Regions from separate parts of the Homo sapiens genome. Here region 2 is linked to region 1. The links are contacts of gene promoters, found by promoter capture Hi-C in blood cells and fetal thymus (Javierre and others, 2016). All regions are on one chromosome and are shown on one strand. Each heading gives the region's core, a stretch centred on a gene start or on the middle of the fragment in contact. The rest is flanking DNA. Distances are from core to core; before and after follow the strand shown.

Evidence for each region. The method cuts DNA at HindIII sites, captures the fragments that hold promoters and counts their contacts. A CHiCAGO score of 5 or more calls a contact.
Region 2: a contact is called between the fragment with the promoter of ARMCX5 here and the fragment with the promoter of BEX5 in region 1, in 1 of 17 cell types (total CD4 T cells). The highest score is 5.9, in total CD4 T cells.

The regions. Positions count from the first base shown.
Region 1 is chrX:102,154,724-102,157,232 of GRCh38, forward strand. BEX5 (brain expressed X-linked 5) reads right to left here and starts at 1,254. Exons shown (of 3, transcript NM_001012978.3): 1 at 1,136-1,254; 2 at 21-87. RefSeq lists an enhancer at 1,071-1,210. The HindIII fragment of the contact is 12,891 bases long and covers 1-2,509 here.
Region 2 is chrX:102,598,260-102,600,768 of GRCh38, forward strand. It overlaps ARMCX5 (armadillo repeat containing X-linked 5), which reads left to right and starts at 1,256. Exons shown (of 4, transcript NM_001168478.2): 1 at 1,256-1,588. It overlaps ARMCX5-GPRASP2 (ARMCX5-GPRASP2 readthrough), which reads left to right and starts at 1,256. Exons shown (of 19, transcript NR_146584.3): 1 at 1,256-1,588. RefSeq lists enhancers at 1,302-2,073, 1,506-1,555. The HindIII fragment of the contact is 9,703 bases long and covers 1-2,509 here.

The DNA.
Region 1 (2,509 bases), core at 4-2,503:
GGCCCCAGGCAACCTCCTACCTTCAGGGATCAGAGGCAGTCTTTCTCTCTTAGCCTTGAAATCGGCTGCACAAACGCACTTAAAGACCTGCAGACAAATGTGACAATTACCAGGACTGATCTTTTAATCAAAGGACCGGTAATGGGAGTTGATTTAGGGTTCTCCTAGTATTAGCACCTTCTGTTTCTCCTCCATCCTGTCTCACGGCTTCTTTTCCCACCCTGTGACAGGCTATCCCACCTTCCAGAAATAGGCATCAAAGATGATTATTTCCAAAACGTTTTAACCTCTTCTTTAGGCGCCCATCTCTACTGTTTCCTCTTACCTGTCATCTAGTTACCCTTTCTGCAACGCAGGCAACTTGCCTGGCGGGGGAGTTAGAAGAGCTTGCTGAATGAATACGTAGTTTATTCACAAAGAATTTCAATCTAGATATCCATCAGGCCCTCTCTCCACCCGATCCCCACTCCCATGCCCACCATTTTATGCATCAAGATGGACGATGAGTGAAGAGGTATGTGGGCATTGAAAACTAGGACCTGCTGCGGTCTCTGCGCTTTGTCATTCTCACTCCAGGATCTACAGGTAGCGCCCACGCTTACACCGACCGACCTGCTGAGACCAAAAACAGTTTCTCGCTCCTCGCCTCTGTCCCTCAGTCAGAAGCTCGCCCGCTCAACTGCCGCAATAGGGACCTGCTTTCCAGACCTAATCTCTGTCCCCCTCCTCTGCAGCAATTCCTCTCCTCGGCCCCCGCAGCCTATCATTTCCAGCTCTAAATGGGTAGAGGGTGAAGAAAAGATACCTAGAAGGCAGGCCTAAAACCTTGGCAGGGTCCGCCCTCCCCAACCCTTGGTTGCCGGCTGTACCTCCCTCCCGCGGACCTGCAGGAAGCAGGCTGTTTCCTTTCAGTCTCCTCCACCGGCTGGACTCCATCAGACATTGCCCGATGGCCGGCCTCCTAGGAGATCTCAAATGGTACCCATTCTCAATCCAGCCCCCTCGGGAGATCCTCTCCCCAACCGCTCCATTTCTCGCACTAAACGGGTGTGTATCTGGAAAGGGTGTGTATCCAGTCCTAGACCCGCTCTGGTCTTTGCCCTCTGCTGCTCACACACCGGTCAGCGCCACCTACCTGCCAGGGCTCAGGGGTCAGCTTCTACCACTTTCCACCTTTCCTGGGCAGCTGGCTCGCCTGCCTTCAGGGCAACAGCGAGCCGTCACACGGCCAGCGACAACTACCAGACTGCAACTAGGAGGAGGGACTAATCCACGCATTGGCTCTGGGTCTCCTAAGGGTCACGTCACTGTGAGCTCAGATTTCCAATTACCATTCACACCCGCAGTGCGGCAGGAGGGTGGGGGCGGGACTGTGGGCGGGGCCACCTTTCTCTTCATTCGTGCTTTCTCCACCACTACCACAGGCTACTATCCACCCCTCTATTTTTTTATTTAGCGATCCCCACGACCAAACGGGTCATAATATTTTGTATTTGGCTTGCTCTGGTTTCTGCTGGAGCTTTTAAAAAATCGCTTCTTCCTCTTCTATACACCTAAACGCACACTTCTCTCCCCTTCACGTCCAGCAAGTAAAGCCCTAACAGTCTTGTAGGGCTTGGTCCCAGATTGGAACCCGGAGAAGGGGTGGGGAGCGAGAGGCTAGGAAGTCTGGAAAATAGGCAGGAAGTGGTATTCAAATTTTTTTTTCACTTCAACTACTTTCCTTTTTGTTTGTTTATTTGGGAAGGGGGTTCCTTTTATTTTTCATCAGCATGCATTCATTTTGTTGTTGTTTTTATAACTAGACAATACAATTATTTTCAGTTGAAAAAACAGGATTCGAGTTGTAAAAACATGGCAATCTGTTTCTCCTGCTGAATCATATTATAAATATAAACCTTCCAGAAAGCATTCCCCTGCCTCCTTTAAGGACTTTGAAATAAGGCCGGGAGCGGTGGCTCGTGCCTGTGATCCTAGCACTTTGGGAGGCCGAGGTGGGTGGATCACGGGGTCAGTAGTTCAAGACCAGCCTGGCCAAGATGGTGAAACCCCGTCTCTACTAAAAATACAAAAAGTAGCTGGGCGTGGTGGCAGGCGCCTGTAATCCCAGCTACTCGGGAGGCTGAGGCAGGAGAATTGCTTGAACCTGGGCGGCAGAGGTTGTAGTGAGCCGAGGTAGCACCATTGCACACCAAGCCTGGGCGATAGAGTGAGACTCTGTCAAGAAAGAAAGAAGGAAAGAAAGAAAGAAGGAAAGAAAGAAAGAAAGAGAAAGAAAGGAAGAAGAAAAGAAAAGAAAAGAGGAAGGAAAGAAGGAAAGAAGTGATTTTCTCGTGAAGGATCTCTACATGTCCTTCCGTGAAATGATGCATTGAGTCTAATAGAGCCTCTCTGGTGGATTTTCATGTCTTGAGAACCTGTGACAAACTGATGATCTCCTCTAAATTGTATTAGTGTAACCACAATTTACAATAACACCTAGCCCTGATGATTCAGGACAATAATTTGG
Region 2 (2,509 bases), core at 6-2,505, 440 kb after region 1:
AGAAATGCAAATCAAAATCACAATGAGATACCATCTCACACCAGTCATAACGGCAATTAATACAAAGTTAAGAAACAAGAGATGCTGGCAAAGTTGCAGAGAAATGGGAACGCTTTTACATTGGTGGGAATGTAAATTAGTTCAACCATTGTGGAAGACGGTGTGGCAATTCCTCAAATATCTAGAACCAGAAATACCATTTGACCCAGCAATCCCATTACTGGGTATATACCCAAAGGAATATAAATCATTCTATTACAAAGATACACGCACACGTATATTCATTGCCGCACTATTCACAATAGCAAAGACGTGGCATCAACCCAAATGCCCATCAGTGATAACATTAAGAAAATGTGGTGCATATACACCATGAAATACCATGCAGCCATAATAAAGAATGAGATCATGTCCTTTGTAGGGACATGGATCGAGCTGGAAGCCATTATCCTCAGCAAACTAATGCAGCAACAGAAAACAAATACTGCATGTTCTCCCTTATAAGTGGAAGCTGAACAATGAGAACACATGTACACAGGGAGGGGAAAAACACGCACTGGGACCTGTCAGGGGTTGTGGGGGGCGGTGAGGGAAAGCCTTAGGAAAAATAGCTAATGCATGCCAGGCTTAATACCTAGGTCATAGGTTGATTGGTGCAGCAAGCCACCACGGCACACGTTTGCCTATTTAACAAACACGCACATCCTGCACATGTATCCTAGAACTTAAAAAAAAAAAAAAGAAAATGAAAATTAAGGGCTGGGAGGGAGGACTCGAAGGAACACAAAGTTTGTGGAATCGATTAGTATGTATCCTCCTATCTCAGTCTTGACTCTCTTTGCTGACTTTCCTACCCTGGGCCCCACCCCGAGACCGCCCATTTCAGTGGGCCTCTGTGTTTGGAGAACGAACTTCGAAAGACTGGAACACTTCCGCCTGTCAGGCCAGAAGAGATTTCCTGACACCACAGCTGGAAACCCATGTGCATTTCAGTTCAGGAAAGAATGGTAGGCTTGGTGGGGGGAGCTCCCGCAAAAGGGGAACTAATACAGAAACACTCTGGTATTTGTCTGCCTCTCTTGTTCCAGCGCCGTTTTCCCTATATCCGGAATTCGTCCCTGCGCATTCCAATACCTGAAGCGGCCACAGGGTACAGGACAGGGAGCCCTCCGACAGAAAAGAGTCGCGGCGCTAAACAAAGCCTGATATCACTCCGCTTCCATAAGCCGGATCCCCATAAACTACGCTCTAGCTCCTCCCACTGCCGTTGTGGGTAACGCGGACGTGGAAGAACCTCGTCTGCGGAGGAAAAGGTAGATGTTAAATGGTAACTACGCGCGAGGTTCTGAGGAGCCCTGGGAACAGGAAGGAGAAAAGAATACCAAAAGTGACAACAGTTTGCCAATCGCAGTCTTTAATCTGATAAAGCGGTTATCTCGTCTTGAGTCCCAGGTGCCGAGTCAATCCCCATACACAGCCGCCGCCATTGCCTCGAGTCCTTGTGTCTGACTGTCTGTTCCTGCTGCTGTATGACACAGCACCTCGAGGCAAGGAAATAAGAAAACTGCCTCTGATCCAAGCAGAGAAGGTCAGTGAGAAGGTGCGCATCGCTTGGGGGTGGATGTGGGTATCAGAGGTGAACACTGGATACGCGACCTGGTCATGGGAGGCGGGCGGTGAGAAGGAGAGAGAGATGGGTAATTGGAATGGCACACAACAATTAAAAAAAAATGATCTACCTTTTGCTAGCTTGATTTCCATACACTCGGTTCACCTCAGACCATGCTTGGGAAGAAAAAGGTTGCAGCTTCTAGCAGGGAAAAGGCAGACTAGATGAGGAAGAGAGGGCTACTTCCACAGGCGAGGACAGTTGTCTGGGGAGCCCTGAGAGGGAGAGAATGTAAAAAGAGGTTGTAAATGTTTGATAATCAAGGCTCTGGATTTGAAAAGGGTCTCATGTCTTGGTTACTGGTCTGACCATTAATAACCACGTCTCTCTCTCTGTCTTTTCATTTGTTCTTTGGGTGTGTATCACGCGTTTTTATGTGTAAATCTGTTCCTAAGTTTGCAGCACTCCATGTTTCTGTAAAGATCTGTAGGGGACAGCAGACCTCAAGGGGAGAGGAGAAGGAAAAGAAAATTGGCCTGGTTTGTACAGAGTGGGCAGTACTTGGGAGGCAGTACTTGGAGGTGGTAGATGGCTAAGATTAGAGTAGGCAGGAGTGTAAGGGAGCCTCCAGAACTCTCTGCCAGCTTTCCTAACATGTCCTCCCTTACCCGCATTATGTTGCAGAAAATGATAGGCTTTGGGAGAGAGGAAGGAAACATAGGAACCCAGATGAAATATGGAAATAAATACTTTTCATTTTTTCCCCAGCCTCCGTGGTTTGTCTAGGCATTTCGTCCCTACTAACACCACTACTACTACCTTGTAGGGATGTTTGAGTTGTCTCTGTATAGGAATTGTCAGACTTTGAGAATAGAGCAGAGGGGCTTGGAGATTTAGGAG